Regions from separate parts of the Homo sapiens genome. Here region 2 is linked to region 1. Evidence: promoter capture Hi-C in 16 types of primary human blood cells and fetal thymus (Javierre and others, 2016). All regions are on one chromosome and are shown on one strand. Each heading gives the region's core, a stretch centred on a gene start or on the middle of the fragment in contact. The rest is flanking DNA. Distances are from core to core; before and after follow the strand shown. Region 1 holds the start of JAM2 (junctional adhesion molecule 2). Region 2 overlaps JAM2 (junctional adhesion molecule 2).

The links. Contacts are between HindIII fragments. The CHiCAGO score rates a contact against its expected background, and 5 or more counts as called.
Region 2: a fragment that was not itself captured here is called in contact with the fragment with the promoter of JAM2 in region 1 in 1 of 17 cell types (megakaryocytes); the score reaches 5.9 in megakaryocytes.

What each region holds. Positions count from the first base shown.
Region 1 is chr21:25,636,120-25,642,812 of GRCh38, forward strand. It overlaps JAM2 (junctional adhesion molecule 2), which reads left to right and starts at 3,139. Exons shown (of 10, transcript NM_021219.4): 1 at 3,139-3,769. The coding sequence starts at 3,703. RefSeq lists enhancers at 2,772-2,911, 3,649-4,149, 4,052-4,121 and a silencer at 3,132-3,321. The HindIII fragment of the contact is 2,383 bases long and covers 2,948-5,330 here.
Region 2 is chr21:25,702,785-25,709,468 of GRCh38, forward strand. JAM2 (junctional adhesion molecule 2) reads left to right here. Exons shown (of 10, transcript NM_021219.4): 7 at 3,195-3,302; 8 at 6,650-6,665. The region is part of intron 1 of LOC124905002 (a long non-coding RNA gene); the gene reads right to left. Among named protein-coding and RNA genes, the nearest start is that of ATP5PF, 29 kb to the right of the region's middle. The HindIII fragment of the contact is 3,961 bases long and covers 2,996-6,684 here.

The DNA.
Region 1 (6,693 bases), core at 1,889-4,388:
AAACACCTCCACCTTTAGCTCCTGATTCTCTCCCAGTTCCTTTTGTACTTTTTGACTGCTCTTTCTTGTGTTCTTTCTCTGGGTTCTTTCTCTTCCTACCTCTTACTGCAGTTATTTCCTTAGATTTATCCATAAACATTCACTTCTTTGTCTGATTGATCTCATTCACTGCTCCTGCCTTCTAGAAAGTTCCTCAAACAATAATCCATAGATTCGTTGCATCAGAATTAATCAAGGTACTTGTTAATAATACAGCTTCCTGGGGCTGCTGAGATTAAAACTTCTGAAACTCAGAATTTTAACATAATTTTAAGGAAAGAATCATAATGAAGGAGCTCCAAAGGATTCTGGGGAGAAGATAGTCCAGTGATCACTGTTCTAGAAGATGCTGCTAATATTTATATTTATTTCTTTAGTCAATCCTGAGGGTTTCCTGTTCTCTAGAGCACTCATTCTAACAGTCTACTGGTCACCCCAGCTATATTTCTCTCTCTCAACTCATCCCAAACCTGCAGGAATTATGTATGCCCTCTATGTTTCTTATTCCTTTAATGACACTATTTATAACCTCCACATACAGCCACCTATGCTAGAAATCTGATACCTACATGTTCTCTCCTTTCTCACCCCTACATCTAGCTGATAACATAATCCTGTTGACCATGTTTGTGAAATATCATCTGAATCCACCCGGTTTTTCATTTATCACACGGTGACCATTTACTTCACAACTTGGTCTCTTTCTCAGGATATTGTAATAGTTTAGACTTGACTAACACCCTGATTCTCTTTTCTGTAATCCATCCTGCACATTTCAATATGAGTCATCATTCTAGAGCAGCACTCTCTTGTAGAACTTCCTGCAATGATGGAAATACATTTTCCAATATGGTAGCCCCTACCCTCATGTGACTATTGAGAAATTCATATGTGATCAGTGTCAGTGGAGAACTGCATTTTACATATAATTGAATTCAAATTTATATAGCCAGCCAGGCATGGTGGCTCACACCTGTAATTCCAGCACTTTGGGAGGCCAAGGCGTGTGGATCATCTGAGGTCAGAAGTTCGAGACCAGCCTGGCAAACATGGCGAAACCCCATCTCTACAAAAAATACAAAAATTAGCCTGCATGGTGGCACATGCCTGTAGTCCCATCTACTGGACTGAGGAGGCTGAGGCAGGAGAATCACTTGAACCTGGGAGGCGGAGGTTGCAGTGAGCTGAGATTGCACCACTGTACTCCAGCCTGTGTGACAAAGTGAGACTCTGTCTCAAATTAAAAACAAAACAAAAAAAATGTATATAGCCACTTAGATCTATAGGCTACCATATTGGACACCACAGTTCTAAAATATGAGTCTTTTCTTATCTCATTGCTTTCAAAAAGCTCATTAGCTGTAGGATGAGGTCTAGACAGTAGCGTGAATGCTCTTCGTACTCTAACCTCCCCTTCAGTTTCTACCACCACCACCACCTACCTCACTATCCCGATCCCACATACACTTTAGTACTGTAGAACCTTGCTTTTTCTAAATAAACCATAATTTTTCAATCTCCTAGCTCTGGATCCTGCTGTTTCCTCTATGTAGAATGCCTCTCCTTTATGTCCTTCCCTTCAGAATTTGACCCATTTTTCAAGGTTTAATAAAGAAAGCCCTGGCCCCACTCCCAACAAAAGGAACAGCCCCTTATCATGGACCTTGGACAAGCCATTTAGTGTCTCTCCGCCCAGTTTTCTCATCTGCAAAGTGGGAATGATAACATTTCCTCTTTTATGGAGTTGTTGGGGGATTAGATATTGCGTTATTCAGACTCCATCACTGAGAAAGCATGCAATAAAAATAGCTGTTATTATTTTCTGTCCTCCTGTAACATTTACCATGTGGTATCAGGCATCTTTCCTGATAAGACTCTGTCTCCCCTCAAGACTGTGAGCTTGTTAGCAAGAAAGCCTCTATCTTGTTCATGGTTGTCCTTCAGCATCCAGCACATTGTTGCCATTTGTCAAATGCCTTGGCTGGGTGGCAAATAAATAACTTAGTCAGTTACTCACATAGGATTGCATAGAATTTTTTTAAGTATGACATTTTTGTGTATATTTTTAGGGAGGAGTAAAAGACATATAGCTGTAGCAAGAATTAGAAAAAAGAAGATGCCAACAACTTTTCTTTTTAAGCATCAAATCCTTCTCATTACTGCCCAGAAAAACTGGCATAAGCTGTTGTTAAATCTGTGCCCCTTCTCCTCGGTTGACTGGAGTACGAGTTTTAACATTTTGCCATTTTGACTTTCCTTTCTGGGTCCCCTGGGTCCTCTCCTCCCACCCCCTCCCTGGGTACTAAGTTTTCATCACTGTCACCACGGCAACAGCAAGGATGCCTCATTCCTCACAGTTCTGCACAGCTAAACTCTGGTCGCCTTTGTCCACTGAGCTAGCTGAATTCTTTTTAAATACACCACTAAATCAACTATCTGCTGTACAGAACTTCATCCATTATTCAACCTTTAAAAAAAAACAAAAACAAAAACAAACAAAAAAACAAAAGAAAAAAACTGATGTATACTAATTTCTTCTCCTGGGAATGGCCTTTTTCCAGACCTGCCAATACTCTTGAATACACCATACATTTTTGGTCCCTAGGAACAAATATAAAAATTGCCAGTGTACGTGCGTCCAATGTAAGTGTGGTGCAATTTTAAAGCACGCAACAGAGCATTCATAATGGGTTTCCCTTTTAAAAGCACAGTAGACCAAAAATAAACCTGACAAAGGGCAGCTGTAGAGTTTTAACACGTGGAAAACTCCACAAGCAGCAGTTATGTAACTTGAAAGAAACATGATAAATATTTCACACCATTAGATGAACTTCCAACTCTGACACTGAAAAAAAAGCAAAGAACAAGAACGCGAGACAAATGCACCTCAAATCTCCAAGGAGCAAAAAGCTTAAACTGAGAAGGGACCAAGGCTGTACTAAAATCTGAGACCTGACTTCCAGCACGAGTCTTGATTGCTTTTTTTTTTCTCGAGTTCGAGGCGGAGCCCGCGAACCCCATCTCCTCAGAGCGCCACCCCCTCAGCTTCGCCCGTTGGGCAGAATTTTCCAAATATCTCCACCCCTAGGCTGAAAAGCCAGAAAGAAGTTTTGAGCCAACGAGGGGAAGAAAGGAGTTGGGGCAAAACAGGAGGCGTTTCCCTACCCGCATACATCCCCGTCCCCGAGACACCCAATCCCCCCACCCCCAGCCTGCCCGCGCCTCCCGCCCCCAGCTCCTCGCCCTGGGGACAGCTGGCAGCCCCGCGCGGACCAGACACAAAGCCGATCAATCCCGGAGGCGTGGGGGCGGAGGGACGACCCGCCGGGGCTTTCCCGGGCGCTGCTCTCCTCCTGCTGCCCCCTCGCTAGGACCCGGCGGACGCCTCGTCTGGTTTTCACGCCCTCTAGCCCCTACCCCCACACCCCCAAAACAGAACAGACCCCCATCCCTGGGCTGGAGGACCCGCCTCTTGGCAGCCAGCTGAGAAGGCGCCCCGGGGAGGGGGAAACTGACATCCCATCTAGAGCCGTCCCTCCTCTTCCTCCCCTCCCGACTCTCTGCTCCTTTCCCGCCCCAGAAGTTCAAGGGCCCCCGGCCTCCTGCGCTCCTGCCGCCGGGACCCTCGACCTCCTCAGAGCAGCCGGCTGCCGCCCCGGGAAGATGGCGAGGAGGAGCCGCCACCGCCTCCTCCTGCTGCTGCTGCGCTACCTGGTGGTCGCCCTGGGCTGTAAGTTGCTCGGGTTCCTCTACCCTTCCTGCCTGGACCAGCCTGCCCCCACCCTCCAGCCCCCCACGGGGCGCTGGCTGACAGTGTCTGGGCGGCTCTGGGCCGAGGTCGCCGCGGGGCGTCTGACCTTGCGCCCAGGCGAGCGGGAAACCCAGGGTGCCCGCGAGCGGACGCTGGGAGCAAGGGAGCGCGAGGTCGTGGGTTTCTTGTGAATTGCGTCTGATTTTGTCAGTTCTAGATACAGAAAATTAAGGGTTCCCACTAGCAGGTTCTCATCTGTTTGCAAAGTTGGGGTAAGTTTTCAGACAGAGGGACGTGATTCGAATGCAAAACTCACTACCCACTGGTAAGATGCTAAGACCCCAAGAAAGATGGCATCACTGGGAGGCGGGCGCCGGCCACACTTTGAGTCCCCGGGGAGGGGGCAGCGTCCGCGTGGTCTGGGCTCTGTAGCGTCCCAGCTGAGCCGGCGATATGCAGCGCACTTGTGGGGCGGAGGTGGAGGGAATTCGTGGCTGCTGAGCCAGAATTACTTTTATCCTCTCCACCTGCACATCTACATTCACTTAGAGAAGTCTGGTCTGGGGACTCTAGCCAGCTGCTCTGTCCTCAGGGGACATCCAACGGGACGATTGTTAGAAAGATTCAGAAGCCACATGATCCAGTAGCTGGGGAGACGTCCCAAAGCCAATTTCACCGGATGATTTTAAACAGGATTTTCACGGATTCTGGACTCATGAGATTTGAAATCCTGGGAACGTTGCCGTTATTTTGTTTTCTTCGCGTTAACTTTTTAGGAAAATGGAGGAAATTACAATAGACTAAGCAATGCAGTTCTACTTTTGCTTTTTCTTTTTTCTCTCACCTTTTTTGTTTTGCTTTTTTCCCTTCCTTCCTTCCTCCCTTCCTTTCTCTTTCTTCTTTCTTTCTCTCTCTCTTTCTTTCTGTCTCTCTTTCTTTCTTTTGTAAAATGAGTTATTGTTGCTATTCACGTTCTGGTAAAGTAACACTTATAATACTTAACCTGCGGGACGAGTGTCTAATACCACAATACAATGATATTTTCTCACGCCCTCGCTGCCCAAGTGATCATCGCACAGCTCAAGTGATGTGAGCCACGTCCCTTTGTGGAGGAGGAAGGTGCACATTGTCTCAGGCAAGGGACATGTACTGACCAATATTATATAAAGTCAAACCAGAAAGCCAAAGTTTCACAATGAAACCCTTGTGCAATTCTGAAATATCAATTGGTATCATATGGAACACACAGAAGAAAAAAAATGCACTCATGCTAAAAGGCAACAGAGAGGTAGGCTGGAGAAATCGTTAACAGAACAACTGAGAAAGTTATGTATTCTGCTGAAATTCTAAATTTCAAATAGAAAAGAGTGTGCCTTTTAGTGTAGAATTGTCACTAATTAAAAACAGAAAATCGTTCTGCTGTGCTATTCCTATTGAATCACCAACATAGAAACAATACACCCCAAGTCTGAAATTGTAGTGGAGAAACAACCAAGAGGCGAACAAAAGCATAAATGAATGGGGCTGAGTGACCTCTTCAAGCTTTAGGTAAATATAACACATTGTCTCTGCTAAACTTGATTCCTATAGGGGATGTATTTGGAAGTGTTGTGGGGACTTTTCTATATTGTTCCTGGGATACTAAAAGATCTGGCATTGCAAGAGTGTTTTCTTTGTATGTGGGTGTTTTTTTTTTTATGTTTAAAACAATTTTAGAACAGTTTGGATTTAAATAAAAATTCCAACGCTAGTATAGAGAGTTCTCATATACTCCACACCCAGTTTCCCACATTGTTAATATCTTACATTAGTATGGTACACTTTATTCAAATTTCCTTCATTCTTACCTAATGCCTTTTCTATTCCAGGATGCCATCCAGGCTACCATATTACATTTAGTTGTCCTGATTCCTTAGGTTCTTCTTGGTTGTAACAGTTTCTTAGGCTTCCCTTGCTTTCTCTTACTATAATGGGTTTGAGGAGTTCTGGTCAAGTATCTGGTAGAATGACTGCGAATTGCTGTTTCTCTGATATTTTTCTCATAACTAGACTGGGGTTATAGGTTTTTTGGAGGAAGATCAGAAAGTGGTAAGGGGCCTAGGTAAAGTGACATTTTCATCACATTATCTCCAGGGAACATACCGTACACATGACTTATTGCTGTTGATGTGAACCTAGGTCACCTGTAATCATACTCCTAATGTAGTGCATACCAGTTTTCTCCACAGATTACCTACCCTTTTTTCTTCATTTCCATACTAGATTTTTTTGGAAGGAAGTCACTACATGCAACCCACACTTCTTCAGGAAGGAGAGTTATGCTCCATCTCCTTGAAGGCGGAGTATCTTCATAAATTATTTGGAGCTCTTCTGCATGGGAGATGGGTCTCTCCCTTCCCTTCATTTATTTATTTAATCATTTATTTTTCTATCAGTATGGGCTCATAAATATTTGTTTTATACTTTGGGTTATAATCCAATACTATTTTATTTATTAAAGACTTAGTGGATTTCTTATGCTGTTATTACATATTCATCTTTTTAATATTCTTCCCAGATGTAACTGTGCCATTCTTTTGGCCACTCCTATCATTTATAATATCATGCTTACTCCCTTCTTTCCTTTTTATCCTGCTGTTTATCAGCATTCTTTATATCTTTCTTAGTAGTCTGGAGGATTGCTTTTTTGTTGTTGTTCTTGTTATTTAAACGATGATGTCAGTATCCCTGTTGATATATGGATATTTTTGTGTGTGTTTAGTTGAATTACATTTTTCTTTCCCACTCCATTAGGAAAGGAATTTCTTGATGTTTGCTCACCACTATATGTCCAGTGCTGAGCAAAGTTCCTGGTTAATAGTAGGTATAAATATATGCCTGTTGATTCTATGGTGCCTTAGTCC
Region 2 (6,684 bases), core at 3,726-6,225, 69 kb after region 1:
AAGGCATTGTTTTCTTTGTTTCCTTTATTCACATACGTCCCCATGGGTTTTTTTTGTTGTTGTTTTGTTTTTGTTTTTGCTTTTTTGAGACAGGGTCTTTGTCTGTTGCCCAGGCTGGAGTGCAGTGTCGTGATCTCGGCTCACTGCAACCTCTGCCTCCCAGGTTCATGCAATTCTCCTGCCTCAGCCTCCCAAGTAGCTGGGATTACAGGCATGCCCACCGCACCCAGCTAATTTTGGTATTTTTAGTAGAGACAGGGTTTCACCGTGTTGGTCAGGCTGCTCTCGAACTCCTGACCTCAGGTGATCCGCCCACCTTGGCCTCCCAAAGTGCTGGGATTACAGGTGTGAGCCACCGTACCCGGCCTGTCCTCATGGTTTTTACCATTACCTTGTCCTACCAGCACTATTTCTGTTTATTTTTCCTTCCATTTAAATGGTCCTGTTTAATTTAAACATCTACCTTTGCCTTCTCTTAAGGAATCATATCCAGGAAGTCATGGTTTTGATGTATTAGTTACTTTTTCTTAGCACACAATAAATACATAACGAATAAAATTTAAATGTTTGTTTCTCCACTAGGACCACTTTAATTTGAACATGATTCTCACATATCTACTCTAAGTACAAGTTAGCTTAAAAGTTAAAATTAGTTTGTTTAACGGTCATCCATTGATCCGAGGTGTTTTGTGTCCTTGGTTGGGACTTACATCTTTTGAAATACATACAAATTCATAAATTCATTTTTTTGGTTTTCTTTGTGAATTATAACTATATTCACATGTAACCAAAATTAGAATATGTTAACTGTCCTAAAGAAATTTTTTCAAAGTGCAGCAAGTAAAGCATGGATTTGTTGGTTGTTTATGGCTGCCTCACTATAAAACTCCAGCAGACTCCACCCACACTGGGCCTTTCAGCAGTTTAGTTCCTTTTCTTTCAGTAAAAAAAATGGTACCTTCCTTTTATAAAGACTTTTTTTTCAAAAAAAAAAAAACACAAAATATTTTCATACTTAATGTTACATTTTCTCTTCACTGAGGCATAATATGGCTGTATGACTTGCTCAACATCACAGAAAATGGTGAACAGGATGTAAGAAGTTAACTTACTCCTTATCTATTACTCTTCTGTCTCCCATTTCACTGAAGAAAAATAACATAAAATTCATACTACAACTTAGCACTTACAGAACAAGACAATTTTTTGTCAGTAGTTTCTTTTAGGGTGAATCCTTCCTTCATAGATGTCAAATTCATTGACAAACTACAAGACAGTTTTTTTTTTTTGTCAGATAATAGCCCTTACTTTGAATGCTTCATAGATGTCAGATTTAATGACTACTACAAAGTAAATAGAAGGTACACTTTGGTTCTCAGGAATTTCACTTACTGATTTGACTTTGCCTAAGATTATGATTACTGTAGATTTTTTTCTCTCTCTGCTCTTTTTAATCCAAGTAAATAAAAAGCTGAATCTTATTGACCTCTCAATACCCAAGCAAACTGAGTTTATACCAAGCAATAATTAATGTTTTCTACTCTGGTCAAATTACTTAACCTTTCAAAAGACTTATCAAGTTTTCTTTTTTAAAAAAATCAATTAATATTTTGGAGGTATTTAAGAAAATTAATAACACACTTGGCATTAGGAAAGAATTTCGAGACCAGAAGTTTTTATGATAAGCAGATTCACTTAAACAGTATCTCTAAAAAGATCATTTCCAAAATGTACATTGCTTTAAAATATTTAAATTATTTTTGAGAAAATGCTATGTAATATTTTCTCTAGGTTATTTAATCATAGGCTAATTAAAACTTGCTTTGTAAAATGGGAACTCTTTGAAGAATTGCTCCTTTAATAAATACATGGGAAGTATCTAAATGGCAGAAGAGTGTGGCTCATAAAATCCTCATGGACAAGATGGAGAAATATGGTCCAAACAATATTTTGGTGGATCCACACACAGTTGAATCCCATGCTCAGAGAATGTTAATAAATTGTGTTGTATGACAGGAGGTGTCTGCTAGCCTGTTACATAGTTGTTTCCTAAACAAATCCATGTTCATCATGTTATTAATGACTTGAATGAGAGTATTTTTAATAAAATTCTCAATTTGCAGAAATGTTAAGCTTGGAAGGTTAATAATGTAATTATTAGGCAACAGAATCAATCTGAGAAGAAGAAAAAAACTTCACAGTAGTTATTTCCAAACTTGGGTTCAAAAAATCCAGTTGCATTACATTAGAGGACGGATGCCTTAACAGTCATAGGAAAAGCCTCAGAGAATTTAATTCATTTTTCATAAATGGGATGACAGTTTAGTTGCATATATGTATATGACTGTGTATGTGTGTATACACCCATATACATATAATTGTATATCTACACCCATATAATTCAAGAAGGAACGTATTTCTTACACTTAGTTTTACAGAATAACAATGACATGTGCTTTTTTTTAAGAGACAGTCTTGCTCTGTCACCCAGACTGGAGAGAAGTAGTGCAATCATAGTTCACTATAATCTGAAACTCCTAGGCTCAAGTGATCCTCCAACCTCAGCCTCCTGAGTAGCTGGGACTCCAGGAATGCACCACCATACCCGGATAATTTTTTTAATTTTTTTATTTTTTAGAGATGGATTCTTGCTATGTTGCCTAGGCTGGTCTCAAATTCCTAGCCTCAAGCAGTCCTCCCACCTCAGCCTCCTGAGTAGCTGGGATTACAGGCATGAGTCAACATGCCTGGCACCATGTGTTTTCTTTGACGTTGAGTTTTTCTTTATTTGTGAAATTGACACAGTTGATGATGTAGGAGAATTTTAAGTAAGACGTGGGGTAGGGAGTGGCAGTAGAATACTTGAACTCATTGAACTTCAAAGATTGCTTCCAGTCTTTTAATCCTGTGAATTATTACACATCTCCAAATGAATGCAAAAGAATACATTTTATTTTTTAATCTGAGAAGTTTTTAAAATTTAGTATTTTTCCAAAGCTTAAGTTCTGTTAATATTTTTAATCAATTTTGAACCATGTCTTAGAAGTGAGTTAGTTGAACAGGCTTCACAATCGTTAAAGTATGCTTTATGATATAGCTGCAAAGGGGATCTTTTTTTGAACCTTTTCAATTTAATGACTGCATCTGTCCGTGTAATCCACATATATTTATGCGTAATTTATTTTACATTCCAGATGATCTCAACATAAGTGGCATCATAGCAGCCGTAGTAGTTGTGGCCTTAGTGATTTCCGTTTGTGGCCTTGGTGTATGCTATGCTCAGAGGAAAGGCTACTTTTCAAGTAAGTGAATTTCACCCTTCTTTGGCAGATAACTTTCTATGGCTATGGAGTTTATTTATGAGATACTGTTTCTCCTAGGAAGTTGTTTTTTTGTTTGTTTGTTTGTTTTTCAGACAGAGTCTTGCTCTGTTGCCCAGGCTGGAGTGCAGTGGTGGCAAAATCTCCACTCAATACAACCTCCACCTCCCAGGTTCAAGTGATTCTCATGTCTCAGCCTCCCAAATAGCTGGGATTGCAAGTGTGCACCAACACACCCAGCTCATCTTTGTATTTTTAGTACAGATGGGGTTTCGCTATGTTGGCCAGGCTGGTCTCGAACTCCTGGCCTCAAGTGATCTGCCTGCCTTGGCCTTCCAAAGTGCTGGGATTACAGGTGTGAGCTATTGTGCCCGGCCCTCTCCTAGCAAGTTTTAACAAACTCTGGAGAATATTGTTCATTTATTTTCTGCTATAGAAAATGTTCAGGATGACATGCAGGTGGCTTATGAAACACCTTGGCAAACCTAGGGAGAAAAGGCAGAACTGCCTAGTTGCACATTCCAGGGAGCACCACAGAATATGCAAGAGGCATCCTTGGAGTGGTGCAGTGCAGCGAGACAGAGATATTCAATGTGAACGGATATTTATAGTATCTTTGCATGTTTTTAAGATTTTTTTTTGTTTGTTTTTTTGAGACGGAGTCTCACTGTGTCGCCCAGGCTGGAGTGCAGTAGCGCAATTTCGGCTCACTGCAAGCTCCACCTCCCAGGTTCACACCATTCTCCTGCCTCAGCCTCCCGAGTAGCTGGGACTACAGGCTCCCGCCACCACGCCCGGCTAATTTTTGTATTTTTAGTAGAGACGGGGTTTCATCGTGTTAGCCGGGATGGTCTCAATCTCCTGACCTCCTGATCCACCCACCTTGGCCTCCCAAAGTGCTGGGATAACAGGTGTGAGCCACCGCGCCCAGACAAGATATTTTTAAGTTAGGAATTGTATATCTCAAGATATAAGTTGATTTCAAATTCTTTAAGAAATTTCATTGAAATAAATAAGTGAAATATTTCATCAGTGTAGAACAGTGAAATGTTGAATGTTAAATTTAGGACAACTGTATTTAGAAGAGAATTGTTCAGCTGGGTGTGGTGGCTCATGCCTGTCATCCTACCACTTTGGGAGTCTGAGGCGGGAGGATTACTTGAGGTCAGGAGTTCGAGACCAGCCTGGCCAACATGGTGAAACCCCGTCTCTACTAAAAATACAAAAATTAGCCAGGAGTGGTGACATGCACCTGTAGTCCCAGCTACTGAGGAGGCTGAAGCAGAAGGATCACTTGAACCTGGGAGGTGGAGGTTGCAGTGAGCCAAGATCATGCCACTCCACTCCAGCCTGGGTGACAGAGCAAGACTCCATCTCAAAAAAACAACAAAAAAAGAGAATTGTTCAGTCAAAAATAGAAACCTATTGTATTTATGAGAGCTACTTCTGTACACAGTTTTGAATTCTTCAAATTTAGACCTCTTGTAACTTCACACCTCCATTTGATAATGCAATAGGTTTGATGTAAATGGGTGGGATTTAAAAATGTTTTATTCTCTTAATGCATTTCTTCACTCCCTCTTTAATATTATTGGAGAGCTCAGAAGCTGCAGCATTCTATCAGGGCCACTGGCAATAGTGTGTAAAATAAAATTCTTAATTGAATTATAAATTTATAGCATATACAAGTTCTAGACCCATTGTTTTACAGCGAACATTAATTTCGGAATTTAGATTTTTAAAACAATTTTTTTTTTTTGAGACAGGGTCTCACTCTGTCACCCATGCCTGGTGCAGTGGTGTGATCAAGGCTCACTGCAGCCTTGACTTTCCGGGCTCAAGCAGTCCTCCCACCTCAGCCTTCTCAAGTAGCTGGGACTACAGGCACATACCACCACACCTGGCTAATTTTCTTTTATTTTTTGTGGAGACAGGTTCTTGCTCTGTTGTTCAGGCTGGTATTGAACTCCTGGGATCAAGGAATCTTCCCATCCCAACCTCCCAAAATGCTAGGATTACAGGTGTGAGCCACCACTCTTGGCCTTTAAAAATATATTTTATGCCAAAAATAAACTTAAATATAAAATGTGTTCCTAATAATACCTACAACTAGGTATTATGTCTCATAAAATGTTTCCGTGGACATGGATTCAAAGAGATGCCCTATAATTAAGAATAACTGGGCTGGGTGTGGTGGCTCACACTTGCATTCCCAACACTTTGGGAGGCCGAGGCAGGAGGATCACTTGAGTCCAGGACTTCACGACCAGCCTGGGAAACATAGGGAGACCCTTTCTTTACAAAAAATAAAAAATAAGCCAGGCATCGTTGCACACACCTTTAGTTCCAGCTACTCAGGAGGCTAAAGTAGGAGGATCGCTTGAGCGCAGAAGGTCGAGGCTGCAGTGAGTTGTAATCTCACCACTGCACTCCAAGCTGGATAACAGAGCAAGACACTGACCAAACAAACAAACAAAAAGAGCGGCTCTGTCAATTAATACTTGTTCAGTGCTTCAATTTAGCCCACTTTAATGTAACTTTATGAATTGAATCCAGCTGTGGCCCCCTGCTGGTCATCAGTGAAAGTACAGACAAATAAGATAACTCTTCCAAAACTCTTGTCATCTTTATCTATAGCCTAAAATAATACTGGTCTGAGTTTTTTTAATGAGGAGTTAGTAAAAAAATTTTCCTAAAATATTGAATTAATTAAAAGTTGACTTGAATATTAGGAGTTCGTTACCTAAGAATGTTACTCTGATTTTTCATCTAGCAGAAAAATCTATCCAAGAGAAGCATATTCTTGAATATATGTTTAGGACAGAGGTTGGCAGACTACTATCTGTGGACCAAATCTGCCCTCCCCGCCTATTTTTCTATGGCCTATGAACAAAAATGGCTTTACAGATGAACATTTACAATCTATTTGATGATAGGGCCCGCTGACTTTGAACCCCAATTAAGAGAAATGTTATCTTCCCCAAAAGCATTCCATTTCTCTAACTAGTAGGCCTGTTTTTCAAGACTTTTATTATTATTGTTATTATTATTATTATATTTTTATTTTATCCATAAAAATGTTTGGAAATTTGTTTGCTCTCTTGTTACTTAAGTACCTATATAGTATCCTCTTGGCCCCAAAGCCTAAAATGGTTGCTGTATGGCTCTTTACCAAAAAAGTTTGCCAACTCTTAATTTAGAAGGTATAAACGTCAGCAAGTGAAGATTAAAATTAATAAAAATAAATTAAACCCAAACTCATTTTTATATGAATCTGTATCATACCATAATAACCCTTGCATTAATGATATATACTTTTTCTTTTGTAGAAGAAACCTCCTTCCAGTAAGTATACTTTCCTACA